Linked DNA regions of Homo sapiens: regions 2, 3, 4, 5 and 6 are each linked to region 1. Evidence: promoter capture Hi-C in 16 types of primary human blood cells and fetal thymus (Javierre and others, 2016). All regions are on one chromosome and are shown on one strand. Each heading gives the region's core, a stretch centred on a gene start or on the middle of the fragment in contact. The rest is flanking DNA. Distances are from core to core; before and after follow the strand shown.

Evidence for each region. The method cuts DNA at HindIII sites, captures the fragments that hold promoters and counts their contacts. A CHiCAGO score of 5 or more calls a contact.
Region 2: the fragment with the promoter of TNNI1 here is called in contact with the fragment with the promoter of IPO9 in region 1 in 7 of 17 cell types (M0 macrophages, M1 macrophages, erythroblasts and 4 more); the score reaches 15.4 in M0 macrophages.
Region 3: a fragment that was not itself captured here is called in contact with the fragment with the promoter of IPO9 in region 1 in 1 of 17 cell types (monocytes); the score reaches 5.7 in monocytes.
Region 4: a fragment that was not itself captured here is called in contact with the fragment with the promoter of IPO9 in region 1 in 4 of 17 cell types (M1 macrophages, endothelial precursors, erythroblasts and 1 more); the score reaches 7.4 in M1 macrophages.
Region 5: a fragment that was not itself captured here is called in contact with the fragment with the promoter of IPO9 in region 1 in 7 of 17 cell types (endothelial precursors, monocytes, M1 macrophages and 4 more); the score reaches 10.8 in endothelial precursors.
Region 6: a fragment that was not itself captured here is called in contact with the fragment with the promoter of IPO9 in region 1 in 7 of 17 cell types (endothelial precursors, monocytes, M2 macrophages and 4 more); the score reaches 13.2 in endothelial precursors.

What each region holds. Positions count from the first base shown.
Region 1 is chr1:201,826,849-201,831,968 of GRCh38, forward strand. IPO9 (importin 9) reads left to right here and starts at 2,309. Exons shown (of 24, transcript NM_018085.5): 1 at 2,309-2,524. The coding sequence starts at 2,362. IPO9-AS1 (IPO9 antisense RNA 1) reads right to left here and starts at 2,711. Exons shown (of 3, transcript NR_046696.1): 1 at 2,103-2,711. It overlaps NAV1 (neuron navigator 1), which reads left to right. Exons shown (of 34, transcript NM_001389617.1): 34 at 1-121. RefSeq lists enhancers at 908-1,422, 1,423-1,936, 2,093-2,387, 2,399-2,608 and a silencer at 2,109-2,348. The HindIII fragment of the contact is 2,219 bases long and covers 761-2,979 here.
Region 2 is chr1:201,419,164-201,424,283 of GRCh38, forward strand. It overlaps TNNI1 (troponin I1, slow skeletal type), which reads right to left and starts at 2,567. Exons shown (of 9, transcript NM_003281.4): 1 at 2,510-2,567. The HindIII fragment of the contact is 15,457 bases long and covers 1-5,120 here.
Region 3 is chr1:201,473,449-201,478,568 of GRCh38, forward strand. No RefSeq gene overlaps it. Among named protein-coding and RNA genes, the nearest start is that of PHLDA3, 6.8 kb to the left of the region's middle. The HindIII fragment of the contact is 283 bases long and covers 2,440-2,722 here.
Region 4 is chr1:201,493,158-201,498,277 of GRCh38, forward strand. It overlaps CSRP1 (cysteine and glycine rich protein 1), which reads right to left. Exons shown (of 6, transcript NM_004078.3): 2 at 3,035-3,147. The coding sequence starts at 3,146. Among named protein-coding and RNA genes, the nearest start is that of CSRP1, 11 kb to the right of the region's middle. The HindIII fragment of the contact is 1,091 bases long and covers 1,763-2,853 here.
Region 5 is chr1:201,530,850-201,535,969 of GRCh38, forward strand. It overlaps CSRP1-AS1 (CSRP1 antisense RNA 1), which reads left to right. Exons shown (of 2, transcript NR_160747.1): 2 at 2,575-3,935. The region is part of intron 1 of LOC124904484 (a long non-coding RNA gene); the gene reads right to left. Among named protein-coding and RNA genes, the nearest start is that of NAV1, 5.7 kb to the right of the region's middle. The HindIII fragment of the contact is 1,234 bases long and covers 1,804-3,037 here.
Region 6 is chr1:201,554,305-201,559,424 of GRCh38, forward strand. The region is part of intron 1 of NAV1 (neuron navigator 1); the gene reads left to right. Among named protein-coding and RNA genes, the nearest start is that of NAV1, 18 kb to the left of the region's middle. The HindIII fragment of the contact is 2,570 bases long and covers 1,239-3,808 here.

The sequences.
Region 1 (5,120 bases), core at 1,059-3,558:
CTTCATCACCACTGAGGCCACCCCCAATCTGGGCCCTCTGTCCATCTGGCATGTCTCCTCCCAGCAAGATTCATCTGTTCAATGCCATTTGCGTTTCAATAAAGTTATCTCCTGTACTGTCCACTGGTTCTCTAGCTCCCTCTCTGCCTGGTTTCTGTCTCCATTTATCTTGTGGCCCATTCCTTGATTGGCAAGGCCAGACTGCTTGTGGTCATTTGCCTAACCCAGAAGTAACCTGAAACCCTAAGCTAGAGTCTCCTGACTCCCATGGTTGGGGGTGGGAGGAACCCCTGCTCGCACATTATGGACATAGAATCCTTCACCGGATCTCAAAACATCCAGCCCAAACATCAAGGCTCCGGAGTCCTCCATCTGGGTTGCTGCAGTGTTTGAAAACATACCACCCTCTTGACTTTGCTAAATTTTCTTCTTGGGGTAAAAGTGAACTGACCTATTAGAAGCTGTTGTAATCAAGTTCAACTTCTTTTGGCCACTTCAAGAAAGTAAATAGGCTTACTATTCCCCATTGCAAAATTGAAGGGTCCAAGAAGCAATCTTTTCCCTATGAAATTGTAGTAACATAACTCATCTCTGCCCTCTTAACATGGGAGGTGACAAGTGTGTTGAGAACTCTCTTCAAGCCAGTTGCAGTGGGTGTACCTGTAGTTCTAGCTACTCTGGATGCTGAGGTGGGAGGATCACCTGTCCAGCCTGGGCAACATAGCAAGACCCCCCCAACTCAAAAATAAATAATTGAGAAAGCTTTCTTTTGAAGTAATCTTCTGATGAGATGACTTAATCCCTGATTGTTACCAGTCCAGCATCCACAGTCTTGGAAGTGACCTAGGATTTGGTAACTCGTTTCCTTTGCCATGTGAGAATGAACTCACTTGATAAGGGTTCCTGGGAACCATTTTGAAGGCACATAACCTGAACAGCTCACTAAAAAATACCTGTTTCTGTTTGCTCTAGAACCTCCCATTCCAACAACATTCTATCCTTTCTGCCACTACATGCTTGCCACTCTGCCCTGCATTTTTTTTAATTTTTATTTTTTTTTATAGACAGAGTCTGTATATCTTGCCCAGACTGGAATGCAGTAGCTATTCATAGGTGTGATGACAGCACACTACAGCCTGGAACTCCTGGGCTCAAGTGATCCTCCTGCCTTGGCTTACATCTTGCTTTTTCTTCTTTTTCTGAGACAAGATGTCACTCTGTCGCCCAGGCTGGAGTGCAATGGCGCAATCACTGCTCACTGCAGCCTCCTCCTCCTGGGCTCAAGTGATCTTCCCACCTCCACCTCCCGAACAGCCGGGACTACAGGGCGTACGCCACCACGCCTGGGCAATTTTTGTATTTTTTTGTAGAGACGAAGTCTCGCTATGTTGCCCAGGCTGTTCTCGAAATCCTGGGCTCAAGCGATCCTCCTGCCTCGGCCTCCCAAAGTGCTAGGATTAGAGGCGTGAGCCACTGCGCCTCGCCACACCCTGCATTTTTAACACCTCACTGGAGCGCTCATCCTCTCCACCTGCTCCGCTATTCAGGAGCGGCTCTGCACCGTAGGCCATTTCCCACGACCAGCTGCTGACAACCATATCATCAAACTGCTCTTGTTCTCGCACCCCTTAAATGTCCAGCCATAATTTCTCAGGGAAAAAAATTTATACATTTTCAACAAATAGGATTCATTCTCAAATAGTCACATACAACACTCACTCTGGAAGAAACTCCCTTTCACATGCCGGTGTCTCCCCTGCCCAGCCACTTCCCAGCTTTGAGGTTGGGCTCATCTAGGCTGGAAAACCAAGGGACTGGGCCGTGGTTTTCCCACTTCCACTTCCCAGTTTGCTTTAGTTTATTTTCCCCCCTCTTTGGATTCCTGAGGCTAAGATGAAGAGAGTCACTTGAGCCAACTTTTTTTCAGTGTTTGGGGGGAAAAGAATGTGGTTTAAAATAGGGGCTATTTGTGACCCAGACCTCTCTCCTTAAAGCCCTCTACATCTATTCCCATCCCGCCTCCTCTCTCCTAACACCTGAAAGATGCATGAATATAAAGTCATATATCATGAACTTTATTCCAAATGAGATTGCTAACTTACTGTGCAACTTTAGGAAAGCCCCTTAACCTGTCTGGGGCTCAGTTTTCACACAAATCCAGAGATCCTTGCAGAGAAAGGTGCAGTTCTCGTTCAGGCAGCAGGAGGCGCTGTCTCTGGAGGCTTAGATTCATTCCCCGCCCTCCGCCCGCTCCCGCCCGCCTCTGGTGCGCAGGCGCGGCTTCGCGGATTGGCCGCGCGCGGGGGCCGTCATTCGGTGGCGGGTCCCGGCCGCGGGGCTGGCGGGCTGAGGGGAGAAAAGATGGCGGCGGCGGCGGCAGCTGGTGCGGCCTCCGGGCTGCCGGGTCCAGTGGCACAAGGATTAAAGGAAGCGTTAGTGGATACGCTCACCGGGATCCTATCCCCAGTACAGGAGGTGCGGGCGGCTGCTGAAGAACAGATTAAGGTGCTGGAGGTGACGGAGGGTGAGTGAGGCGGGACCGTCACGAGGATGGCTCAGCCGCACAATCCGCTGACCGCAGCTCCGTACCGGCTGGGGACATGGGGAGCCTGAGCCAGTTGGAGATGTGGGCGCCGAGAAGTGGAGCAGGAAGCGAGAGATTGATGTCGCTGGTGGTTGTGAAAGTCCGAGAGAGGAGAGGCGCGCCTGAAGGATAGGGTCGGGGGAGGTGGAGCCTGGGAGTGGGGGAGGGAGGGTGGAGACTTGAAAAGATAGATGGAGCCTAGAATCTGCAGGGGACGGAGATGGAGCTAGACTTGGTGCTGTTGGAGGAAGTAGCGCGGTCGGGGAAATATTTTTTGAGTCCAGGACCAAAGTCTTTCGCTGTTCTCTTCACCAGCTGGATTGTACTGGGATAAGAGTAGGGGGAGCTATTAGTAGGAGTGGTGAAGGGTAGGGCCTCGAAAAGGCGGCTATCAAAGCTTAATAGATGTCATCAAACAAGTTTCTGCCTCTGAGTTATAAACCTAGCTAGTTGTTTGTACTCTTCGTGTTTTCCCAGAAATTAAATGCATATGCGATTGCTTCACTGTCCTGACCATACTTAACGTTTATTTTAAAAATAATTTGCCCTTATTAAATACCTTTGTGCATTTCTGTTTGGAGGAACTGATCATCCTTTGTTTTTGATTCTTTGTCTCCGTCCTCTATTGTGTGCTTTAAAGTGATGGAGAAGAAAATAAACCATTGGTTCGAGATTTTCTATCAATTTCCTGCCGCGTGAGCCTTTCACCGGGTCCAGTGTAGCTACCACAAAGAACAATTTAATCCAGAAACAGGAGGAGAAATCTTCTTGGTCTTTGTGTAAGAAATATATCTGGTCAGAGCTTCACTGGAACTCCAAATCCTCAGAATCTCCCAACTCAGGAATATTTCCACCACCACTTAAATACTTCATCAGAGATATGGGAAATTGTCCCATCACACACCCATCATATTCAAAACCTTCAGTTAGCTCTCCTACTGGACGTATTTCTATTGAAAAGAATTTAGAACAAATCTCTCTTAAATTTAGTTTACATTCTTTCACAGTATGAAAGAGCTGTTGAAAACAAATTTTCTTCTGTTGGAAATATGTTAAGATTTGGGATCTAACAGGCTAAGGACCATTTTGAAGGCCCACTTGTAATTGTCATTGTTTTATAAAATATCAGATCTATACAGGAGAAACCACTGGTTAGGAGAAAGCTGTTTGAGAACCATGTATAAACTAATCTAAAGGAATTTTTAGCGGCTTCTAAATAAAATTCGTTTATGCACATTAATGTCTGTCCCCCTTGAGTATGAGGAAGGAAGAGTGACAAAGCAAAGGAACCTCATCACATTCAAGTTGTCACCTGAATAAAACTTGAGAGTCTGGTGCAAATTCATCTTAACTAAACCTTCCCTGAGTGGTACCCAGTGCTCCTGGTGCTCCAAATGCATGTCTGGCACCTTTGTATGAAAGGTGGACCTTGACTTGTATTTAAACTGTCTTACAACAACTCCACTTTTGCTCTGATCTTTTCAACTTTAGCCAAATGCCATGGTCTCATCTGGGCAAAGTCAATTATAAAGTTCTCGAGGTCTTTTTTGAAACTCTGATTCCTCACTTTATTCATCTTTTTTTTCTTGAGACTGGGTCTCGCTCTATCGTGTAGACTTTGGAGCAGTGATGCCATCATGGCTCACTGCAGCCTCAAACTTTTGGACTCAAGCGATCCTCCCACCTAGGCCTCCCAAAGTGCTGGGATTACAGGCCTCAGCCACCACACCTGGCATCTTTTTGAGCCTTTAAGTGAAAAATTAAATTTCAGAAGTACAGAATTTTGATCTAAGTCACTGATGAGAAATAGATCGACTGCCCCCCGACCCCCATAACTTACTGGTAATGTGCTGTTGGGCAGACTATGAGAATGAAAAGTATGGAAAGGCATCGATGCAGTGACCTGATATTGGTGATCTAGTAATAGAGCATATGACTCAGGTTTTGGATTTGGTTAGAGGGTTGGATCAGTCTCTGGAGTTTAGTGCAATGCTTCGGACCCTTTGGAGGCTGCTTGTGTCTTTTAAGTAGTCTGGCTCCTTAATGTCTATCAAAAAAACTATAGAGATTTACCCCCTTCTGTACCTGTTTTAAGGTGGAGAATGGCGGTCCATTCCCTCAGATGCGGTCTGCTTTCTTCCTCTTGTGGCCTTTAACAAGTTATCTTTGACATTGGGTTCAGAGTACCTCCCACCTTAAACTCTGTCTGAATCTCTCAGATGTTTTCTGAACATGGTGCAATATAGTAGCTGCTTCTTTACCAGCCTCAACCCTTCTTTACATGAAAACATAGAACCCAGCTTTCCAGCCGGGATTTAGCCAACTATCTGGCCTGATGAAACTGGCAGGACATGGTTCCTCCTATTAGAATGCCCTACAGAGCAAGATGAGCCATTCTTGCAAACTACTTTCCACTTCTTTGGTGTTGCTTCACATTTTAGTGTTTTTTGCTTTTGTTGTTGTTGTTGTTGTTGTTGTTGTTGTTTTGAGACAGAGTCTCAGTCTGTCGCCCAGGCTGGAGTGCAGTGGTGCGATC
Region 2 (5,120 bases), core at 1,317-3,816, 410 kb before region 1:
GTTGAAGGGGGCTCCCATAGCAGCCCTCTGGTCTTCTGTGAGGACACTTGGCTGTGGAATACAATTTGAAGCCCCCTGACCAGGTGATCCTGGGGCCCAGGCCAAAGAGGGGGTCCGTGAGGCTGCAGAGGGAGATGTTCCAAAACCAGACATAATTCACCGTCTTGCCTGGGCCTGGACACAGGGCATTCCAATGCAGGGGAAGGGAGGAACTGTGCAAAAGCTCAGGGAAAGGAAGGGGACAGCTGAGGTGGAGAGCAGGTGTGCAGGGGCGCACAGGAGCCCTGAGCCAGGCTGTGAAATGAAGGATGGGAGAGCCTAGTGTGTGTGGAGTGGGCAGGCATGGAGCTCGGGGGCAGGAGTTTGGACTTGGTTCAAGAACCTTGTTGTGGGGTCTGGGAAGTGGGGAATTAAAAGACACTTGTAAAGTGCCTGCCAATAATTGTATCCCAGAGCCACCCCTTCCTCTGCCCTAATTCTCTCCTTTCCCTTTGTGCCCATGAAGCACTATCCCAACCCCAATGAACACAGCTTTGGCCACCTCCCCTGAATCTCCCAACGGGTCAGAAAGCCTTCTGGGCCTCCCTCCACCTCTGCCTCCGCCACCAGGGGAGGGTAAGGCTGGGGTGGAGGAGGTGGAGGTGTAGTGTGACCCCAGAGTCTCAGCTGTCATGCTGGGGCACAGAGGGAGGGGTATGGAGACAATCCATGAATTCCTGAGATGCTTGGCTGGTATTAGATTTTATGGGCAGCTGCTTATTCTTAGGGCTCTGCTTCTCCAAAGACACTGAGGAAGTCCAAAGGAAACACCAGCTGGCGAAGAGCCACCTCCAGGCCCATCTGTCCATCATCAGCCTCCAGGAATGCCAGTGTCCAGAGGGCACCAGGTCTGCGTCTGTCTCCCTGGGATGTGCCTTGTCCTTGGTGGGCATTTGGCAGTGATCATGCCTCCCTGTCTCCCTCAGAGATCCAACTGTCCCCATTGTGGGGCCCTACCTTCCAAGGCCGGTTTACACCTCCTGCCAAGCTCCGGGGCCTGCCCCCAGCCTGCCTCACTGACAAATGCCAGACCAAGGGGTCCCACGTCAGGCAAGAGGCCTCAGCCTGTGCTCTGACACCCCTCAGACGGGGGCCCTTGCCAGGCTCTGTGGAAGACAAGCGAGGACTGATAAGTCAGGATGAAGATAGCAGCCACTGGAAGGCTTGGAGAGCCAGGATTCCATCTCCTCTACAAGTAGCAAGCAAGGAGATAATGAGAAAATCCTCCCCCCGAGGGGGGGAGCAAAGAGTCTCTGGTGGTTGCCTCAGAGCTGGGCTTTCCCTTCCTTGAGGCTTTGCAGCGTGGAAGGGACTATCCGCTAGACTATGAGATTGAGTCTGTGTGTGTAAGTGTGTGTAAGTGACTGTGTGTGAGAGTGTGAGTGTGAGAGAGAGAGCGTGTATATGTAGGGGAAAGAACTGATCTCTTTGCACACCCAATGATCACGTCCACAAGTATCTAGTTAGGCTCATGTGCTTCCCCCTGCTCCCCGCCCCCTGACCTTGGACCCCCATTCAAGGGCATCCCTGTCTTCCTTGACTGACGGTTAACACTCCCAAGTGCATGGCGCTGGGCTGCCCCCATCTTGAGTTCTGAACAGCAAAGCCTAATCTCAGAGCTGCTGTGGGACTGTGACTCCCAAACCTGGTGGCAGGTGCTGCCTTCAGCCCCCACCTGAGTCAGGGACCGCCACACGGCCCCCTGCCCCAAGCCTTGGGTTACCCTGTAGATACTGCCCTGGCTTATGTGTTCACTGGCTCCTGTGCCCCAACCCAAAATGCCGCCACCATTGCCTTCCTCCAAGAGGACCCCCAGTATCTACTGCTGCTTCTCAGAGCCAGGAGCTCTGAGCAGGAGCAGTCAAGAGGGGTTGCCGGTCTGCCCTCCTCTGCTCTTGTGCTACACTACAGAGGGATAGGCAAAGGGAGCTAACAGCGTCGCTCAGAGACAAAGAACACAGAAGCAAGATGGTTTCCTTGGCCAGCAGGGAGCTCTGGCCCTGCCTTCTAGGCTCCCTGGGAGTCCTGCGCGTCAGGCACCCTCCTTCTCTTCCGCTGCAGGCATTGCTGACTTTGAGCACTCACCCTGGCTCTCTGATCCCAGGGCCACCCCTTCCCCTGGGTGCGCTCTCCCTCCCACACTCTGCTGGGCATCCTGTGTGAAAACATCATCCCTTAGGCTCTGCCCTGGGGCTCCTAAGGAACCTCACGGAAGATTCTGCTCCTTGCTCACAGCCTCCAAATGGCCAGGAAAAAGTTTCACCTCTCACAACAGTTTTGCAGGAGAGATGCCATTCTGTGGGACAAAATGCTGTGGGAGTATTTTAGGAATGTTCTACCAACAAACCAACTGCACAGGCAAGAAATGGTTTTCTCCAGCTCCAAGACCTCGCTTTCTCCTTAAACAAAAGCCCCAGGTTCTCTGCCTGGGATCAACCTACATCTGAAGTTCTGGGCTGCAGACGCTTACCTTGTTCAGTCCTCGTGGAGCTGGGCTGGCCTGTGCCTCGCCGTAGACTGCAGACTGTGAGGGGCAGAGCCGAGGGGAGGCTATGAAAACTGTGTCCAGCAGCAACTGGCTGGTAAAAATAGAACAGACCCACTGCCCCCTCCTGCTGCCCCTCCTCCCTCCCACCCTTCACACACACACACACACACACACACACACACACACACACACACACCTCACAGGGCAGATGCGTGCTGCAATGCACACAACAGGCACATAGGCGGAAAGCCATGTGAATTTGTGGCTCAGGAGCAGAGGCAAATTCTGTGCACATAGGTGCCACCAACTGAGTGAAACCAGCACCCACCTGGGGAGACTCGAGCTGCAGAAAGGGAAAGAATGAGCAGCCAGACCAGGTGTGGGGACTGAGCAGAGATGGGACTGGGAGGGGGAATGAGGGAGAGCAAAGGGCCACAGTGAAGGCCCAGAGGGGCAAGTAGCAGCTGGGGGAAGAGGACCATTGGGCTAACCCTGCATCTCTTATAAGGCAATATGGAAATGAGGCCCCTGAACCCATGCCCCAAAAGCCCAAGAGGGCTAAAGACTCAGCTTTCAGGGATTTTTCAGTGGCTCTGGTGCACGTGGGATACGAGGGTGCCTGGCTGTGGGGAGTGATGTGAGCAGTGTTGCAGGCTGACCCCAGTGAGTGTTTCCAGGGCTGAGCAGAATGGCAGTGGCAGCAGGGCACACCTTTATGCTCAGGGAGGTCTGAGGGTCTGCAGACACTCTGCATCCCCCTCCAGATGGGTTTCCTGGAATCTAGATTTCCCAGGTTCCAAAGGACACCCGAGTCTCATGCCTGGAACTCAGTGAGACTAATTCACCTCTCCTCTGCCCTAATCTTCATCTCCAGCCAGAAGCCAACAGATCCCAGGGGACTGGAGCCACAGGGGCTGCACCTGTTTACCGGGTATTTTTAGGATGGTTGATGAACACATAATACCCACCCTATAGTCAGAGAAAGACAATGCCTGCTATGTTAATCCTGTGGCTATTATAGTCTGTCATCTCATGGGTTGGGGCAGGACACTGACCCTCTCAGAGGCCAGAGAGAGGCCTCGCAAGCAGGAGGTTAGGGAGCCCCAGCCATGCTCCCCATTTGGAGAAGGAGAGAGTAATGGGCAGGGGTGTCCTAAGGAGACACACCCCAGTGCCCACAGAGGTAAAGGCCCTGCCCTCTCTACAACGACATTCTGCTGCCTAATAGAGGTTGCTCTAATTCTGTTCTGGTCGGGTCAACTTTGAGAAGCCTCTATGTGAGACGGCTGCCAGGGAGAAATGACAGGGTCTGGGGAGGCATAGGGGTTGGGGACATAGGATTCCAAGTGGAGAGGCTGTGATGGATAATGAAGGCAGGCTCCAGCCAAAAGGAGCAGCTAGAGGGGAGAAGGAATTTAGGGGCTTTGCAGATGAGCCTACTGGAGTTTATTGCCTTGGCTTATTATAATTTATACAATAACTTTCCATTTATTTATTTATTTATTTATATACTTTTGGAGACAGAGTCTCACTCTGTCACCCAGGCTGGAGTACAGGGGCTCTGTCACCCAGGCTGGAGTACAGTGGCTCACTGCAACCTCCACCTCCCGGGTTCAAGTGATTCTCCTGCCTCAGCCTCCTGAGTAGCTGGGACTACAGGCACGCCACCATGCCTGGCTATTTTTTATATTTTTAGTAGAGATGGGGTTTTACCATGTTGGTCAGGCTAGTCTCAAACTCTTGGCCTTGAGCAACGCACCTGCCTCGGCCTCCCAAAGTGCTGGGATTACAGACATGAGCTACCATGACCAGCCTATACAATAACTTTCTTAAAAGGCCTTGATATTCTCAAAAAATGAATTCTCTGCATGAATTATCCTGCTTTTTGAAAAGGAAAAACAAAAGAAGACAGTTCGACAAATAGAAGAACAAAGCAGGGTGAACAAAAGCCAAGAAAGTAGGTGGCCGGATGTCCGCAGCAAGACGTGGAGAACATAGTGCAGCCAGGGGCCCTCCCTGGGCAGGAGCCATGGAGAATCTCAGACTCGGAGTGATTCATCTTCACACTCTGTTGGACAGCATGGGACCAGGACCCCTCACCCCAGTGTCCCAATTCCATCCCCACCATCCCTGCACACCATGTGGAATCCAGCCTCCAGCTCACCCTCTCAGATCCACCCTGACCTTTGACCCCAGTTCACACACTGACTTCTTTAGCGTCTCTCTCCTGCAGTCTCTCAAAGGTGGCCTTCAAAAGCAAGAATGCAGTGCCCTGTTGTCCTTGCCCCTGACCCCCATCTTCCTTCATGTATGGAGTGGGTGCAGAGCAGGCCTCAATGATTCAGGCCGCCCACACCCAGCTGAGGGGCCGCCACTGGAGGTCTTAGCCCTGTGGCCCACTCACTGCCCCAGCCAAGTGCGCCTCTGCAGCCTTTCTCCTCCCCTCCTTGCCTACAGAAAAGGTCACCCCTTCTCAGTGCACATCTGCCCTGGGGCCAGGCTTCCTATTCTCCCTGCAGAGCAGGCACAGCTGTCCCAGAGCTGAGGTTCTGTCTGACTCAGATGCTTACTGGTCAGGGAGGACCCTTCCTAG
Region 3 (5,120 bases), core at 1,331-3,830, 350 kb before region 1:
TCCCTGGCTCCAGCCACAGTCCTCACCATCCCTTGAACTTGGCAACCATCCTTCCTCAGGGCCTTTGCACCTGCTGTCCTCACTGTCTGGAATCCTCTCTCCCAGATCACCAAATGGTTCATTTTTTCACCACACTAAGCTGTGTTCACGTATTACCTTCTCAATGGGGTCTTCTCCCAACACTGTGTTTAAAGCCACAACCCCCTTCCATAGATGTACATACACACACTGTATCCCGTCCCTGCTCAATTTTTCTCTATGGCACATATTAGCATCCACAATTGTATTTTTCTTACTTATTGTCTATCTCCTTTACTTGTGGGCTCTATGCCAGCGGGGAGTTTGTTTTTTGTTTGTTTGTTTTTTTGAGGCAGAGTCTCGCTCTGTCGCCCAGGCTGGAGTGCAGTGGCGCGATCTCAGCTCACTGCAAGCTCTGCCTCCTGGGTTCACGCCATTCTCCTGCCTCAGCCTCCTGAGTAGCTGGGACTACAGGCGCCCGCCACCATGCCCGGCTAACTTTTTGTATTTTTAGTACAGACGGGGTTTCACTGTGTTAGCCAGGATGGTTCCAATCTCCTGACCTCGTGATCCGCCTGCCTCGGCCTCCCAAAGTGCTGGGATTACAGGCGTCAGCCACCGCGTCCAGCCTATCTGTTTTTTTTACCCCTGTGGCTCCAGCACCTAGAACATTGCCTAATACACTGTAGGAACTGAATGAATAATTATCGAATGAGAAAATGAAATGACAATGTACCTGACAAAAACTGGGAGGTGGAAAAGGATAATGCAGAGGAGGGGAAACAATCAATGCAATCTAGAGTTAATGAACTAATGAAAAGAATGTAACTGCATTATTTAAAACAATGGAAACCACTAGATGGTTAAAGGAGATTTTTAGGGCAGCAAGACTATTTTGTATGATACTATAATGGTGGATACGTGACGTTATGCATCTATCAAAGCCTGCAGAACCATACAACAAGAGTGAGTTTAAACCATGAACTTCAGTTAATAGTAAATGTATGAATCTTGGCTCATTCATTGTAAAAAATGTAGCACATTAATGCAAGATGTTAATAATAGGAGAAACTATGGGGGAAGGGTAGGTATGCAGGAACTCTGTTCTATCTGCTCAAATTTACTATACATCCAAAACTATTACAAAAATTAAGTATTTTAATTAAATACCAAAAATAAATGGTTTGCCTGTAATCTCAGCACCTTAGGAGGCTAAGGCATGAGGATCGCTTGAGCCCAGGAGTCTGAGACCAGCCTAGGCAACATAGTAAGATCTTGTTTCTCCAAAATCATTTTTTAAATATAGCCATAGTGGGGTACATGCCTGTAGTCCCAGCTACTCAGGAGTCTGAGGTGGGAGGATGGCTTGAGCCCAGGAGTTTGAGGCTACAGTGAGCTATGATCACACCAGTGCACTCCAGCCTGGGCAACAGAGCAAGACCCTGTTTAGAAAAGTAAATAAAAATTTAAAATAAATTGTTAACAGTTTCTCTAGGTAACAATGAAGAAGAAAGATAGAGACTTATTTTTTCATTGTTCACCAATCTGTATTGTTTGATTTTTTTAAATCCTGTGCATGCATTGCTTCTCTAAAAATCTAGTTAACTGCACAGTACATAAATGTTCATGCGGTGCAGCAGTTGAAAATACACAGATCTACAGGTCTTAGTAGGTTGAGATGCCTGAAATACGTTGTTTCATGGGGAAACATTACAGTACAGTGAGTTAATAAGGTATATAGCATGGCCACAATGAACAAAGTCCACCTCTGTTGTACAGGTTATATCTAACAGGATTCAATTCACAGTGATATGTTACTTATGGAATGTCCAGGATGGGGATGGGCAGTGTGAGAATGCCTGTCATTTTATGAGCATGCTTCAATATGGTTTGGATGTCATACTCATGTATTAGGCATATTTTTAAAATAAAATAAACACATAGGTATTACATAAGTTCTTGAAATAGAATTTCAAACGCAAGGGCTGGCTTCAGAGCAGGGGTTGATTTAGAGGCTTGAATGGCAGTTATTGGCCTCCAGGCATTCCCAGGATTCCCCAAGGTGGGCACATAGAGCCTCCTGATGTCGGGTGTGTACACTAGAACCGAGCAAACCCAGAGCTGAGCATGCAGCCCCTCCTGTCTCTGTAGTTCTGGAGAGAACTCCCCAACCTTGGGGAACACAAAAAAGGGGCTGGTTCCCCCACAGGACCCTGGGCACCTATTCCATTATCCCCTGGCAACTGGAGTTGGAAGGCTCATCTAGGCTGCCTCAATTTGACCCCCAGTCCAGAAAGAGGTGTGTGGCATAGACCAGCGCTTCTCAGACTGCAGTGTGCAAATGGATCACCTGGGGATCTTGCAAATGCAGATTCTGATGGAATAGGTCTAGGGTAGGACCTGAGATTCTGCACTTCTAGAAGCTTCCAAGTAACACTGATGCTGCTAGTCAACAGAACATACTTTAGATAGCAAGGGTCTAGAGCAGCGGTTCTCAAAATGTAGTCTCAGGCCAGCAGAGTCAGCATCAGCTGGGAACTTGTTAGAAATACAAATTCTAGGCTCCACCCCAGACCCGGGTTTGGAGCCCAGCAATCCGTGTTTGAACAAGCCCTCCAGGTGATTCTGACGCCCACGTGTGAGAACCACTGGTGTAGGGGAAGGAGCACTCAGGTAGGAGACAGGACACCCATGTCCTAGCCTAAGCTTGGTGACACCTTACACAATCACTTCCTCTCTCTGACCTCAGTTTCCTCATCTGTAAAATGAAGGCTGTCAAGTTCTATCTTGCAGATTCAGTGCATATTTGAAAAAAAAAAAAAAGCCTGGCTAGTTTATGGGAGCTATGTAACCCCTGTATAGGCAAGAAAAGAAAACATCACTACTCCTTCCTCAACCTGTTCCCTGGATTCCTCAGGCCAGGTAGTGCCTCCTCACCTAGATGGGGCATGAAAATGGGTCTGTTCACAGCCCTGCTCCTCCCCACCCTGCTTCTCCCTTCAGGCTTCTGCACCCACCCTCCAATCCACAGGTCCCTCACTGCTCTCCTCTCCCTGGGAGCTGGGGGCTGGGAGACCCACTCCAGCTGACCTCTCCCTCAGACTTCTCCTGACCTGCTCGCACCGCTTTGATGTACAGCCCTTTGTTCCAGGACTTTGGGGTTTCCTCGGATCTCTGTTTTTCTAAAGGGAAACAGAAGGAAAAACCCTACCAAGGTTTCAAGTCTCTGATGACTTGGGTTTTATGGGCACCATTGCGACAGACTTCAAGTGGGCAGCAACTCTGCAGCCGACCCGCCCAGGCTTGCTCCTGGGCCTGGCTCTCTCAGTGGAAATCCCCTCCCACGCTCAGCCCTTTAATCACTTTCCAGCCCAATAACTTTCCTGATTCACCAAGAATCCCTTTCGTCTTGAGAGCACCTACTGCCCCCTCTGATGGGGCTGAGTCTGGGCTTGAAGGCATTTGATCCCAGCGTGGGTCTTACAGAGATTGGACTTGTGGGCTAATGGTTCAGGTTGGGGCCTGCAGAATTTTCCTTTTTCCCATGCCATCTTGGCATCTGGGTGCCCATGTTGTAGGAAAAAATGGGCTGCCCTGGAATGAATCTCTTCCTTGAGGACACTTGACCAAGGGGCAATGACACTAGGAGGAGACTGACTGATACCCAGGAAACTAGTGGCCTCAACCAATATGCCAATAATAGCCATGAAACCCTTGACATAAAAGTTGCTTTCTCTTTTCTTCTAGTAATAATGTGCTTTAAATGCAAGTAACACTTGAATACATTTTTGTTGCAAAAGATTCAAAACATGACAGTATCTTTTCACCACCCTTCTAGTCCCCCAACCCCAGAGACAACAATCACTTAGCTTGGTTTGGGTCTTGCCAGATATTTGTTTTTACTTTTCACACATCTGCACCCAGACTAGTATAAAGCAGCATTCTCAATGGTAATGTAAGGGAGTTGGTTGAAGGATTCGTAAGTCCCCTTCCAGCTGTGCCATTTTCTGCATTTGTGGGTGGCTTTTCCCTCTCCTCCTAAATAGGAGACATTCATAGGCTCTCCCTAAAAGTATGGGGGGAGGGGGAATGCACAGAGGAAAATAGGAAAGGAAAGGTCACAGTGTCAACAGCAGTTCCTTCGAGGTGAGGAGATCATGGATGAGTTTTTTACCACTTGCCTCTGATTTTCAAATGTTTCATCATGAGAGTTATAAAGATTATTATTCGTGAGTATGACTTTGATAACAGGGAAGCTCCTATGCAGTGCCATTGTCAAGATCAGGCAGAGAAGGAGGCTGTGAGTTGTCCAGCCTGAGGCTTAGGTCAAGGAGAAATTAACAAATTGCTCAAGGCAGAGGGGTGTGTGGAGGGGCTTAGGGAGGGGAGGAAGGCTCATGGCATATTCTTGGATGTGATCTACAGGAAGATTCATAGAAAGGAACTTCAGAGTAAATCCCATTGTGTGTGAATTAAGAATTAAGTATTCTTAATTCTTAATTCAGGCCCTGGGCTAGACTTTAGGGACACAATGGCAAATGGGTGAATCAGAGTTCTCTACTTAACAGGGACTAGCAAAAGAAGGGGAGGAAGAGTTCACATCTTTAGGAATCCCACCCTACTTTTGCAAGAAGATATTCCTTCCTACTGAAGAAGACCCCAGAGTTAAGCATTAGATCTTTGACAGGCTACGATCCTGACTTTGTAGAAATATGGTCTCCATACTTGACTCGGCCTATCTAAGGTGATATTGGTATGTGTACTAGTTAGGATGGGCTAGGTTATGCTGTGCTAAGAAACTCCTCCCAAACCCAATAGCTTAACATAGCAAAGGTCTTCCCACTCATACCATATGTCCTACTTGAGCTGGCAGGGGAGGTATATCTGCTCCTTGAGATATACACATATCCAGGTTGCTGGAGGTTCCATCACACCTACTTCCACACTCTCCACAACAGGGAAAAGGGACATGAAAACTTACATCGTGCCTATTAAAGAAGTCTGCTCAGATGGCCAGGCACGGTGGCTCACGCCTGTAATCCCAGCACTTTGGGAGGCTGAGGCAAGTGGATCACCTGAGGTCAGGAGTTCAAGACCAGCCT
Region 4 (5,120 bases), core at 1,058-3,557, 330 kb before region 1:
TCTGGCAGCCCCTTTCAAGACCATGGGAGTATACTGTAGGCCCTCTCAGTCCCTGGTCCCAGGCCAAGCCCAGGGTGGAGGTCATTCTCCCCACCTTTGCCTATGACATCATCATGTCTTCCTCCCGCCCATTCAGACACTCAGGAAAGGGCACTGATATGGTTTGGCTGTGTTCCCACCCAAATCTCTCCTTGGGCCAAATGGAGATAATTGAATCATGGGGGCAGCTTCCGCCATACTGTTCTTGTGATAGTGAAAAAGTCTTACAAGATCTGATGGTTATATAAATGGGAGTTCCCCCATACAAGCTCTCTTGCCTGCTGCCATGTAAGACATGCCTTTGCTTCTCCTTTGCCTTCTGCCATGATTGTGAGGCCTCCCCAGCCATGTGGAACTGTGAGTCCATTAAACCTCTTTCCTTTATAAATTACCCAGTCTCAGGTATGTCTTTATTAGCAGCATGAGAGTAGACTAATACAGGCATGTAGGTGGGCAAGCTGAGTAGAATCTGGAGCCAAGAACCCACATGGTCACAACTGCTTTTGGGGACCCAACCAGGCCTGGCCAATGAGGGAGATGGCCCTTACTGCCCTTGGCCCAGACCTGGCTAGCCTCTCCCTTCCTCGGGAGGGAAAGTCCTTTGATTCAGTGGGCACCCTGAATGGGGTGAACACTTATCACCCACTTCACTGGAAAAGAGAAATGATGTGCCTTCCATTCATAAACAAATCTTTGTCAGGAACCCACTTTGTGCCAGGTGCTGTGTTAGGCATGATGAATGAGCAAGTTGTGGAGATGGCTCAGCCTGCTGGGACATGTGCAGTGCTAGGGGGTCCACTTGGTGCTCTGATATCCAATAGCTGCACTGGCCCTGAGACCCTAGCGTGACCTGAGACTGCTTCCTGCGGCTGCTCATTGCATAACACCCCCGCACCCCGCCAAGAGCCCTGCTCCCCAGCCTGACTTTCTACAACTGTTTCTCATCCGCAGCGCCCCTCACACCCTGCCCCAGGCCCTGTTCCTTCCTTCCTATGCCACCCCCTGAATTCCTGACTTCCCTCAACCCTCTGACCGACTACTCCTCCGTAAACAGGTCTGCAGGCAGGCACCCCCGCCCACAGCTGACCCCTTATGGTCAGTGATTAAGCAACATCTGAGAGCAAAGAGAGGGGCCCTTAGGACCCCAGCAGCCTAGACCCCCTTCCCAGCCAGCACCAAGCTCTCTCTTATTCCCTCTGGAAAGATAAACGGCTTGGAAATTCCTAAGAGTAGTGAACTGCTGATAACAAGACGCTGCTGTTTCTGGCCTCCTTTGCAGGCTGGAAGCCAACAAAGCTCCACTAAACCTTGTTTACTCCCCATTCATCAGACGCAGCCCTGGAGCTGTCACTCCAGGCCCGGCTGAGCAGGATGTGGGGCCCCTGCTGCCCTGTGCGGGGTGGCCTCAGGTGGGTCTACCTAGCGACAGGCAGAGATGCAAACGTCCATTGAACAGGTGGCTCTTGGCCCATCTGTATCCTACTCTGGAGCACAAATCATGAAACTTTGCTTCGTGTAATGCAGAACAGACAGGACCCCATTCTTGGATCTCCCCATCTTCAGGGGCCTCAGACCCTGGTGAGGGCTTCTTTGTATCACACCATCTTGCTACAGATCCCTCAGCAGTGTGCGTGTGTGTGTGTGCGTGTGCACGTGTGTGCGCATGTGTGTGTGCATATCATTTCTTCAACACTCATAATCATTTTAAGTGCTTTGTCTTACAAGCTTCTTTCATTTTAATTCTCACAACAATCCCATGAGGTAACTATTATTACCTCCTCCGTAATAATGAGAAAACTCAACCAGAGAGAAACTGAGTAACTTGTCCATCATCACACAGATAATAAACACCGAATCTTTTTTAACTAAGACATTCTTCTACCATCCATTCTGCCTACCATCATGGGGAATGTACCTTGGCGGGCACAGTGGCTCACACCTGTAATCCCAACACTTTGGGAGGCTGAGGTGGGCAGACTGCTTAAACCCAGGAGCTCAACGCCACCCTGGGTAATATAGGGAGACCCTGTCTCTCTAAAAATTTTTTTTAAAAATTGGCAGAGCATGGTGGCATGCATGTGTAGTCCTAGCTACTCAGGAGGCTGAGGTGAGAGGATCATTTGAGGTGGAGGCTGCAGTGAGACACTGCACTCCAGCCTGGGTGACAGAGTGAGACTCTGTCTTAAGAAAGAAAATGCACCTTGCTGAAGTTGCCTCTTCTTCTAACCCAGACCTTCTGCTCTGATCACAATGAACCAACTCATTTAGGAACCTGAGGAGAGGCTTCACCAAGTTGCCACATCCTGGAAACATCACCTGGCCCAGGTACCAGTGGGTGCAGCATCACGGTGTCAGGATCCCTGGGTCGACCTGACCTCTGTCAGTTGCTTGGTATTCTTTTGTCTGATTTCTTACTCATCTAGGCTTATGACTGGAGCAAACCTTGCTCTGGCTTCTTAGGAGTAGATATCAGGGAACTTTGTACTCCCTCTTCCTCTCATCCCAGGCTGAGTGGGAATGGGAAGTGAAGAACTGAACAGGCCAGCCTGCAAGGGGCTGAGGAAGGAGGAGCCCCACTCTTCCTCCAGATTCAGCTTCACCATGAGGTTGTGGCCTCTGTTGCCTTTGAACAAGAGATAATTAGGGTGCAAAGGGCTGAAAGTGTTTTCCTCTGAAATGGTGAAATCATGACAGGGAGAGAGAGAAGAGAGAGCTGAGTGGAAAGTTTTCTTAACCAAGTCTTTACAGCTTGGCTTTCAGCCCCTGAACGCCTGCCACCCCGACCCGCTCTGGCCAGTTCATCCCTTAGAAAGAAGCTTCTGAACGGAACAAAGAGGCCCTGAAGTGTTTCCCTGCCCAGCTGCGCTTCAGCCAAATGTCAAGCTGTTTACATCCCATGGGATCAGTTCCCTGGGGTGTTGACAGGCCCAGCCTGTGGGGGCAGGCCCGTCCAGGGTGTCCAAGGCAACAGCAATAGGGCCTGGGGCGTACTCACTGCACAGGAAGCAGGATTTATGGAAGCTGTTGCCTTCGCACTGAACCTCTTCGGCAAAGTAAACCGTCTTCTGACACACCCCACATTTCTTGCCTCCTCCCCAGTTCGGCATTCTGAAAAGGGACACAGAAATGGGAATTAATTTTACAGGGAGATGGAAACATCTCAGATTGTCCACGACAGAAATGCAACAGCCAGATCCAGAGGAGAGAAAGACAAAAGTAGAATGCCTGGGGGGCCACCAGGCCTGGCAGAGCACTTTCTGCTAGCTCTCGACAGCAGCCTCGCACGTTCTCGGGGATTTCCTCCCCCCAATCTAATCAACAGGTCTTTACAGAGCAGCTGCTGCATTTTCAGCCCTGTGCTAGGCACTCTAAAGGATGTGGATCAGCAGAAGAAGCAGGCTTTATAAAGAAGGCTCCAGCTGCAATAAAAATGGACTGCCTACCCCTACACACGTCAACATGGACGGATCTCAAAGAGAATGTGGAAGAAGCAGACAGACCAGAGCTGGGAAAATGCAAGTCCATTTGTAGGAAATTCACAAATGGGCTAAACTCATATTGCCAAGGGATGGACATATAGGTGGAAAAGTTACTACAGAAAAGCAAGGGAATGATGATCACAAGCTTTTACCTTAGAAGAGTTACCTCTAAGAGAGGGAAGGGACCATGACTGGGTTGGGAGACCAGGGAGGCTGGTAAGGCACTGCCTGGCAATGCTCTCCTTCTTAACTCAGGGTGGTTGTCATATGGGGGCTCACTTTATAATTATTCTTTGAACTGTACATGTAGGTTTTGTGCACACTTTTGTATATAAGCTATAGCTCACCACAAGAAAAAAGTTTTTTTTGTTTTGTTTTGTTTTTTAAATGCAGGGCTGGGCATGGTGGCTCACGCCTGTAATCCCAGCACTTTGGGAGGCTGAGGCGGGCAGGCCACCTGAGGTCAGGAGTTCCGGAGTTCCAGATCAGACTGGCCAATGTGGCGAAACACCATCTCTACTAAAAATACAAAAATTAGCCAGGTGTGGTGGTGCGCCCCTGTAATCCTAGCTACTCTGGAGGCTGAGGCAGGAGAATCACTTGAACTTGGGAGGCGGAGGTAGCAGTGAGCCAAGATAGCACCACTGCACTCCAGTCTGGGCAACAGAACAAGACTCTGTCTCAAAAAAAAAAAAAAAAAAAAAAAAAGGCAGGAGGTAGGCACACAGGGCAGTTATCAAACTTCAGAGTGAGGGGCTTTTGCAAAATCAGATTTAGTAACACCACCCCACATCTAATGAATTATAACCTCTGAGAATGAGATACTTGAGAGAATGAGGTACTTGAATCTGAATTTTTAACAAGCACCCCAGGCAAACAAAGCAGGTGGCCCAGACCAACTTTGAGATGCTCTAGGTGTTGGTTCAGAGCTGGCGTCCTGATGCCATGCAGGTTTGGCTCAATCTTGATCCTGCCACTCATTAGCTGTGTGACCTTGGGCAAGATAGTCAGTCTTTCCAAACCTTGATTTCTGTATCTGTTAAATAAGGATAAAAGCTGGGTGCAGTGGGTCATGCCTGTAATCCCAGCACTTTGGGAGGCTGAGGTGGGCAGATCACGAGGTCGGGAGTTTGAGACCAGCCTGACCAACATGGTGAAAACCTGTCTCTACTAAAAATAGAAAAATTAGTGGGGCGTGGTGGCACCTGCCTGTAATCCCAGCCACTCAGGAGGCTGAGGCAGGAGAATCGCTTGAACCTGGGAGGCAGAGGTTGCAGTGAGTCGAGATCGCGCCATTGCATTCCAGCCCGGACGACAGAGCAAGACTCCGTCTCAAAAAAAAAAAAGGATAAAAATAGCGACTTCACCGAGTATGTCTGGTGATTAAATGAGATATGATATGTCAAAGGCAAGGCACAGTACTTGGCACATATACAGCACACAGAAGTCCAAGTGATGCCTCAGGTCAGTGCCCACGTGGCCACAGAGCAGCACGGAAGGTAACACTAGTGAGTGTGGAGAACAGATGGGGCCTGCTTCTCTCCTTCCATTTCACTCGCTCACTCAACAGACGTGGCTGAAGGAGGAAGACCACCCTTCCAG
Region 5 (5,120 bases), core at 1,171-3,670, 300 kb before region 1:
TCCCAGACAGATTGCAAGGTTTTTCCAATACTGCATTCTCCCTGGGGCTCTCCCTGGTTGGCGTGGAGAGAAAAGCGCCAGCAGGGGTCAGCAGTGTCCCACATCTGGCCGGGAGCTGCTTGCCACATGTGCTGTTTCTTCTGGCACGGCACTGTCAGAGATACTGGGGAAATTGGCGAGCACCGTTCCATTGAGGCGTTAGCATCATTATGAGCATCGCAGGCTCAAGATTCCTCTCCCTGAAAGTGGGGTGGGCTGGATGAGTGGAGGGTGTGTTCTTTATAAGCACTATGTGGGGTGTGGGTGTAGAATCCAGACATCAGCAATGCCAACTCACCATCTGGTTTTCTATCGGGAGGTTTTTATGTGTATTGGCGTGAGCAATATATTGTGTCGGTCTGGGTGTCAGAGGACGCGTGTCAGAGTTGCCTTGTTGAAATTTTCCCAGGGACCTGGGATTTCTGGATTCACCCGGTATCCAGGCTCTCCCAGAGCGGCACTTTAGCTGGCCAAGGCCTGGAGCAGAGTGTGTGCAGCGCTCCCACGGCCGCCTGCCCGGGCCTGCCCCCGACACATGCTTAGTGGAATTCTCCCGTGGCAGCCCAGAGTCTCCGGAACGAAGGTCTCCACAGCCAAAGCCACGCAAGAGGCTCTCCTGCTCTCATTTCCAGACGCACCCTCATCCTTGGCCTCTCCCTGCCTCAGTTCTCTTTGACTCCTCCGGTCCTTGTTGCTGCTCAGCTCCAGGGCACCCCCACCTCCCAGGACAAGTCCCCTGACTTTACAGCTTACAGGCCCAGAATAACAGATGGCCAGAGGCATCCCATTCAAGACTCCCCGCCTCCTTCCTAGCTCCTCAGTCTCTCCCACCCCAATGTGGTGGTGCCCAGGGAGGGGGTCAGGAAACCACAGAGGGCCTGTGGGAGGCGTACAGCTGGGGACAAGCGTGGGCTGGAAGAGGAGCCCAGTCTGTAGCTGAGACTCCCAGGGCCTCATGACCTTCCAGGCAGCCTCCACCGCTGCTATGACAGGCAGATGCCCGACTTTCCACCTGCTTTCTGACCTGGCTTTGGCAAGGCCTGAGCACCTGGCCTGCTTTCCCAGGAGTACAGTTACAGCAGCTGATCTAGGGAACAGGTGTGGGCTCCGTGTCACAGCTGCTGCTGAGCACATCTGTACCCACAGTGAGGAGGCTGCAGCTGCAGCAGGGCCTGTCAGTCACTCATACTCTCCCCGGAGTTGGGCTGGGGGCACTGAAAGGGCCAGGGGTGGAGAGAATCTGAGATAAGCATTCACAGAGCACCTTGCTCCTAGAGATCCCAAAGTGTGACCCCTGACAAGGTTTTCCCACAGTCAGCCTCACTGGCACCAGCAGCGTGGGAATTAGGGCTGGATTCTCCCCTTCTGCCTTGCTTCCCAGCCCTTGGGCCACAGTCAGCTCCTCCTCCTTCCTGGCTAGCTCAGCTCAGCTTTTGCAGGATGGAACTCTGAATCCTGGCTTCCAGTGGCTCTCCCAGAAAACTAGGAGGGAAGTGCTTGGAAGAATGGCTCTTTATTCATGCAAATGATTTCTTGCCATTTAAGAGCCTCAAACCACAAAATCAATTAAAGAGAAAAGGGGAAGATTTGGGGGTCTGTGCCAGCCACTGGATGCAATGCTTTACCTCCATCATCTTATCAAATCTTCCCAGCAACCCTACTGCATAGCTATTATCAAGATCATTTCTGTTTCCCAGAGGAGAATTCAAGGTTACACAGTTAGGATGCAGTGAATCTGGGATTTGATTGCCGTCCTGACTCCAAAGCTTGCACTCTGACCACTGGGCCACACTGCCTCAAATCTCCCATTCTCTGTTAAATCCAACATCTGAGCCCCATTCTTTCTCCCTTGCAGGGAATCACCTGCCTACCTCCACCTCATCCATTTCTCACCACAGCTGGATTCACCTCTACAGCCTTTACCTCCAGTCGTATTTGGCAATTCATCCTTTTCCAGCTCCTATCATCCTCCCCTACCCTCACCAAAGTGGACATCGCAGCCTCTAAATCTGAACGGAGCTGACACCTAGCACCCACCCTCTCACCAGCTACCTCTGGGTTCCCCCACCCGGTATTCCCTTCCTCACATCCAAGCCTGTTCCCCTCAGGCCCTGTCATGGCCTGAAATAGTCTTTGCCCCTGTCTACCACTCTCCAGGGTCCCTCTTGACACCTACTTCTGCTTTCCCCTCTCAAGACACCTTTTCTTGGCATTTTAAGACTATTTACTGACTATTTATTGATATAGGAAAATGCTTACAGAATGTATTAGGAGTATCTTACACTTTTTTAATAATTATGTATGTAATACATGAATAGATTCTCCTTGTAAAAAACAAACTCAAACACACAGAAAAAGTTAATGACTCCCTTGATGACTGCCAGTTTGAAGTGTTTTTCCAGACCTTAAAAAAATATACTTTCATACAAGCATATGTACATATAGAAAGATATACTTTAATGGGGCATCTTTCATCATAAATTGGATCATAATGTGCAAATTGTTTCACAACTTTTATTCTCTGTTTGTTTTCAGACAGGGTCTCACTTTGTTGCCCAGGCTGGAGTGCAATGGCACAATCATGGCTCACTGCGCCCTCCACCTCCCAGGCTCAAGCCATCCTCCTATCTCAGCCTCCTGAGTAGTTGAGACAACAGGCATGTGCCACCATGTCTGGCTAATATTTTAATAAAATTTTTTGTAGAGACAGGTTCTCCATATGTTGCCCAGGCTTTGATTCTTCTAATGCTCGGTATTAAGACTCTATGACTGTGTATTATACATAGAGTTTACATGTGAGTAAGTTCTGGGTGGAGAGACACTATTCCTTGCTAGGGCCTTAAGAGTCTGGCTGCAGCTCTGCTATCACATGGGCAAAACCAGCTACATAATTTACAAGATCCAGTGCAAAATAAAAATGTGACATTTCTTGTTAAAAATCATTGTGAATTTCAAGATGGCAACAACAAAGCATTAAACCAAGCAGGGGGCCTTTCTAAGCTTGAGCCCCCGTGTGACTGCACAGGTCATATGCCCATGAAGCTGGCTCTGCAGAGACTAGCTGACCGTTGGACTGGCTGTGTCCTGGATTCTTTTAGTTAATGCATTCCGTGTTCTGACAATGGACATTCCTGTCTCAGCCTCCACATTGGATCTGGTCCCCTGATTCTGCACCCAACATTCCTCAGCCACATTCCCTGCTCCAAAGCCAGAGCTCTATGTATTCCAGCACAAGCAAAGTCCCAGGGTCCATGCCTGCCAGTCAGCATTGCTCTGGAGGCACCCACAAAGATGGCAAAGATGGGGGGTGAAGGGGGTATTGGACAATGATATTCCTGTGCCTCGAGTGGAAAGTCTCTCAGGAGATAAGAGAGGACTGAAGTACCAACCAAGAAACCCGGGTTTCATTCCCAGCTCTGCCACTAAATTTACTGTGTCCTTAATTGGCAAGTTGCTTAACATCTTGGCACTGTTATCTCTTTATCTGTTAAAGGAGAGAGTTTGATTAGATTGTCTTTAAGACCATTCCCACTTCCAGCTCTAAAAGTCTGTATTTAAGTGACTCTAAGAGACTGTAATAATAATAGATAACATTTGTTGACCATTACCTTATGCCATTTACATGTTGATTTAATGCTCATAACAACCGTATGAGGCAGGCACTGTTATTCCCATTTTACAGTTGAGAAAATTGAGACTCAGTTTAAAACATGCATGGGGAACAAGGTAGCTTTTTGGGGTGGTGGAAATGTTCTAAAACTTGGTTCTGGTCATGGCTGCAGAACTCTGTAGATTTAGAGTTGTATATTTCGAGTGGGTGAATTTTATAATATGTAAATTGTACCTCAATAAAGCTGTTGAAAAGAAATAAAGAAATGTGCTGAACTAGTACATGATCAAGCTCTCCACACTGCTATGGAGACTATCAAGACTCCTTTCCTCTGCATATATGTAGTATTTGAAAACATGGACTCAGGAGCCAGACTCCTTCAGTTCAAATCCTACCTCTATCACTTACTAGCTGAGACCCAGACAAGACACTTGACCTCAATTTCTTTACCTGTAAAGTGGAGATAAAAAGTGGTACAGATTTCATAGGGTTGTTGTGGAGATTAAATGGGTTAATATATGTTAAATGCTTAGCATAGCAGTTGGCACACAGCAAATGCTATATAAGTAGGGACTATTATTATCTTCCATACCACAGGATTGCCACAGCCAGAACCAGGCTTCTTAAAGGGGCAGGTTTTCTCCCTGCAAACCCAACCCCTATTCTCCTGGGCCCCTTAAAGAAACACCTCCTCTTCAAAGGCCATCTTTGGAAAAACACCACGATGGCTTTCAGTACATCTCACTTCCTGGTAACAGAGAGAGAGTGAGAAACAGCATCTTCCCGATAAGGCAGTGACTCGCTCACTCTCGTAAAACATTCATTACTCTGACAGCTTTTCCCCATGGACTCTTTCTCCCAGGTCCCTGTAAGCTCCAACAGTCAACACAGAGGGCCCTTCTTAAAGGGGGCCCAGGGCCAGTCATGAGGCCCGAGTGGCCAAGGATGGAGATGCCTGTTTTGCCCATGTCCAACCCCATTCCACTAGCCTAGGAAACCCCTCACTGGTTAATGAATCAAGCTAGAAAGGACAAGGATTTTTAGTGGCCAGTCAGATTTCTATCACTGAAAAATGGGTTTTCAAGCACTGAGCCCATAACCACAGTGAATTTGACTGGGGTGGGGAGGTGGGGCGGGGTTGGGAATATGAGCTGATGCTTTCTGTTTGATAATCCCACTTCTGCTTATATGTGAGCAGCACTGCAGAAACCATTTTCTCCTCCATGATCTCACTGAATACTCACCATGCCCTTGGTAGGTGGGTATTCTTGTCCTCTGGGTGTCAACACTCCCTTTTACTGATGAGCAAACTGAGGTGATGCACTTCAGCCAGCATCAGAACCAAGGCATGGAGTCAGGTCTTCTGAAGCTGGGCCCAGTGTTTTTCCACTGTGCTTCAGAGGAGGAAGTCAGAAGCTGCCTCGGACTCCTCCTTAGAAGCTCCAGTGACGCTTATTAAGTGCTCAAGAAA
Region 6 (5,120 bases), core at 1,274-3,773, 270 kb before region 1:
GTGACATGATGAAGCTGTTTTACCAGCAGGACGGCCCTAATGGCAGGGACCACGTCTGTTCTGTTCACCGATGGGAAGCCAGCACATAGCACAGAACCTAGCAAGCAGTGGGCATTCCATAAAGAGGTGTGGGACCAACTAATGGCTTGGAAGAGGGAGAGTTGGGCCAGCAGATGTACTGTCACGTTCCTGACATGCAAAGTCTGGGCTAGGGCGGCCCTGCTGGGGAAGGAAAGGAAGAGCCGTGGGAGAGACTTTTTACAAAGGAAAACCGAACAGGACTGGATGACTGTGGAACATGGGAGGGACACAACAGAGAGCAGAATCCAAAAGTCGTGCAGTCTTTTTGGAAGAGCACTGGACTGAAAGTTGAGTCCCTCCTGCACCTTTTGGCATATAACCTGGGTAACTCATTTAACCTGTCTCAGTCTTAGAGTCCTTATCCATCAAATGATCAGTTTGCTAGGGCTGCCATAACAAAGTACCACTAAGTGGGTGGCTTAATGAAACAGAAATCTATAGTGTCAGTTCTGGAGGGTAGAAGTCTGAAATCGAGGTGTTGGCAGGGTCATACTCCCTCTGAAATTAGTGGAGAATTTTTCCTTGCCTCTTCTAGTGTCCGGTGCTTTCCGACAATCCTTGTCATCCCTTGGTGTAGAGACACATCACTCCGATTTCTGCCTTCACCGCTGCATGGCCATCTCCTCCCTGTGGCCTTCACATCCTCTTCCCTCTGTGTATGTCTATGTCCAAATTTCCCTCTCCTTATAAATACAGCAGTCATACCAGATTAGGAGCTCACTCTACTCCAGTATGACCTCATCTTCACTAATTACTTCTTCAATGACCCTATTTCCAAATAAGGTCACATTCGGAGACACTGGGAATTAGTACTTCAATTATCTTTTTTGGTGACACAATTCAACCCATAACATGCCACCTGCCACAAGATTGAATGAGGCAATCCTTTGTCATTGTTGCAGGTAAGGCAAGAATCAGGGGAGATTTTGGCCAGAGACCTACTTTTAACATTCTATGTGACCTCGTTCAAATCTCTTCTCCTCTCTGGATCTCAGTTTCCTCATCTACAAAATGATCTGTAATGTCTTCCCTAGATGTAAATCCCACAACTCCTTGACTCTGAAGCTCTGAGGTTTTGAGTCTGGGGGCCTGGGAGAGCTGTGGAGCTACTAACAGATATGGGGAAGTCAGGAGGGTAAGCCAGTCTGGGGATCAGAAGCTTCCTCTAGGTTCCATCCCTCATTTGGGAACTCAGCCCTCTTCTCCTGGTGGCCGGGACCCTGGAAAGTCCCAAGCATCTTCTATCCCCATCCCCTGCGCCATCACCCCTACCTTAGTGAGGCTCAGAAGGAGGGAGGGCTGCTATAAATAGCACCCTGGAATCAAAAGGCCCTCTTCCTGTGCAGGAAACACAGCGGCCTAATGGAGGCAGGAAAAAGGTGTTTCCGAAAGAGAGGCCAGAAAAGGGAGGGGCAGTGGGGATTCGGGAGCCAGATGGGTTCCCGGGTGCTGGAGCAAAGGTGCTGTGAAGGGAGATGGGGGGCGGGGGGCGGGGCAGATTTAATAACAGCTTCTGGGGTACTACTTGAGGTCGGCCTATCTGGAACCCCAAGAGAACAGTCTGTGGAAAAGGCCCAAGAGGTATTTGAGTTGGGAGACTTAGGATTTCAGGTCCGAAAGTGGGGATTGAAAATGCCACATTCATTAATTCACTGATCCATTCATTCATTCACTAGATATTAGCCACAGCTTAGGACTGTCCTAGGTGCTAAGGACAAACAGTATAACGCTCTTTTATAAAAAATAGTCTGAGACCTGGAGCAGTGGCTCATGCCTGTCACTTTAGAAGGCCAAGGTGGGTAGATTGTTTGAGCCCAGGAGTTTGAGACCACCCTGGACAACATACAGAGTCCCCATCTCTACAAAAAATAAAAATAAAAAAATTAGTCGGGCATGGTGGTGGGTGTCTGTAGTCCCAGCTACTCGGGAGGCTGAGGCAGGAGACTTTCTTGAACCTGGGAGGCAGAGGTTGCAATGAGCTGAGATCGCACCACTGCACTCCAGCCTGGGGGACAGAGGAAGACCCTGTCTCAAAAAAGAAAAAAAAAAAAAGGTCTGGTAAGCAAACCAGTGATTACACCCCAGTTGTAATAGCTCAGGACAGTGGGGGGACAGTGGAGGGACTGTAACCCCTGGAGGGGCAGGAAGGGCCTCTTGGGAGGTGAATTCCTCCTCCTGGGCTTGCAGGAATTAAGTCAGGCAAAGACTGGGTTGGAGGGGAGGGAACTGGGGGGCCTTCCAGGCAAGGGGAGAAAAATACTTGGACTCTTCCCCTCTGCTGTCCTAGCCCCAACCTTAGTCCAACCTGGGCCAGCAGCAGAGGTCTAAGGACCAGCCCTGCCCCCTCCATAGAGGCTTGCCACCAGTCCTTGGGGCCCTCTCTGGAGAAATGCCCCTCTCCTCACCAGCAAAGAGCACCATCCTCCAAATGCCTGTGTGGAAAACGGGTCTCAAGTGACCTCTCAATGGAGAGCCCTAGAAAATCATTAGTGTTCCCCCTGTAAAAACAGGGGCTTAATTCTACGGGCAAATATCTCAGGCAAAAGCTCAGACCAGTAGACTCGTCTCTGGTGCAAAGGAGGAAGATGAGTCAGCCAGGGTCCCGGGAACCCTGACTCCATGATCCTGCCAGACCACAGGGCCCCCACTTAAGGCTTGGAGGGGGCTGAGATGAAAATGATCTACTGTTTCTCTTAGGAAGCCCTAGGGAAGTCCAGTTTGGTGTCAAGTTGAAGATTTCTATGCATTCCCACGGCACCAACTGTGATGGTGAAATGCCACATTTCAGCCCCAATCATTCAGCCAGATTGGATTGCAATTAGTACCTGAGGCAGGAGCCCAATGCCCTCTGAGGTGCCTGGGTGAATTTCAACTTCTGTGCTGCTCCTTTTGTGAAACAATGCAAGAGATTCTGGAAGAAAGACAAAGGGTTGGGGGATGTGCTTGTCCAATGTCCTTCAGCACAGCCCACAGGACAGCCTTCAGACGTGTCCTGAGGCTTGTGTGCCCAATCACACATGCAAGGAATTAGGGGCCTGCCTTAGGGCTTGATTCCAGGACATTTACTCCCCATGGGGAGATCACTTACAAAGCTGCACTGTGGCCCCAGAGGTTCCCCTGGGCTAGTCTTAGAGAGAATTAAAGTCAGAAACCACCCAGCCTCCCCAAAACACTTAACTACCACCTCCAAATTAGCACCGTCCTTGGCTGGTAATCAAATTCTAGGAGATAGTTCCTGATCTTCCCAGTTTTCAGGTGGGTTAACTGAGGACCGGCTTGCCCACACCACTTAGGCTAGATAGAACAAGTAATTAAAGCCCAGAAATAGCTGGCTGAGATCCAGCCTGTTTAATGTAATAATGCTGAGAAATGTCAAACGTGGTTTTGTTCCAATAGGAGTGGAAGGGATGAAGAGAGACAGGAAGAAAGCACTCTATGTAGTTTCTGGAGTTGGCTGTAGAAGGACGAAAGGACTCCTCAGGGGCTGCGGAAAGGAAGCCATCTATGTGCTGGGCGGTGACTGAGCTGTGCATGGAACCCTGCGCAAGGGGCTTGGAGGGGCAGAAAGGAGGAGGCCTGGACTCCAAAAAACAAAAACAGAAACCAGGGATAAGAATAAGGGTGAAACAGAACTGGGTTTCTATCCTGCTGCCTCTTCCTAGCTGTGCGACTTCGTGCATATTATTTATCCCCTCAATGTTTTCGTGCTTTGTAGGAGCCAAGGGAAAGCTTTCCCACCACCCTCTGAAACTTCACTGAAAATAAACTGACGATATGTAGATAAAAGGCAGATAAACTTATTTAACGTGCATAAGCTCATGGGAATCACAGGAGAATGGTCACTCCATAACCCAGTGAGGTCCAGAGGCTTATATACCCTTCTACATAGGGGAAGGGGAAATGCGGGCCATATGGCCATTTTGAAGAGTAGGCAGTGATTTTTCGGGGAAATGAATGAGCCCAGTGCTCAGATAATGGTTAGTAAATCATTCTCTTTGGGAATTGAATGGAACCAAAGAACGAACACTGGTTTGGGACAAAATTTGTCTGGGATCTAGGTGTGGTGTTTTTTGTTTGTTTGTTTTGAGATGGAATCTTGCTCTGTCGCCCAGGCTGGAGTGCAGTGGCACAATCTCGGCTCACTGCAACATCTGCCTCGCGGGTTCAAGCGATTCTCCTGTCTCAGCCTCCTGAGTAGCTGGGATTACAGGCGCACACCACCACGCTGGCTAATTTTTGTATTTTTGGTAGAGACGGGGTCTCACCACGTTGGTCAGGCTGGTCTTGAACTCCTGACCTCGTGATCCACCCGCCTCGGCCTCCCAAAGTGCTGGGATTACAGGCGTGAGCCACCGCGCCCGGCACAGGTGTGGTGTTTAATTTTCAGTCTCTTCCTCTGTGATATGAATTTTAATCTTCTATGGTTAATAAAACTTCAGGGAAGGAATCAAAAGCAATTGTGTTCCTCTTTGGGGTCTGGCTTCTAGGGAGATAAGAGAATTCCAGAGAATAGTCTCATCCTGTGCTTTGAGAAAGATGGATGATTGAGAGGCAGGAGTTGGGGTGGGGGAAGTCAGAGGTACCTTGAGTCTGCTTCTTTAGTTCAGCATGTCAAAAGGCCATATTATGGGGTATCGTTTTCTGAGCCCCAACACCTTCATCTGTAAAATGGGAATAATTTTAACCTAGCTCATTGGATAACCTTGTTCACAAGGATTGAAGGAGATAACGCGTATAACACCTTTAGCATAGCGCCAGGCATATGGAAAGGGGTTGTTGATAGCTCTTGGCCTTCTGGAGCCCGTTTCCCCTCTGTAAATTGGGGGTTATTTATGGTCCTTACGGGCCTGCCGAGAGGCTACCATGAATTGTGGTTATAAAGGGCCTGGCTATGAAATAGATGCTCAATAAATGTTTCCTGCCCTTGAGAAGCTCCCCATCCATTTGGAGAGACCAGAAGCACACCCTTGGAGGATCTGACACTGGAGACTCGCACATAAACCACCAGGAACAGTGCTCTTCCAACAGTTGCTGCTTTT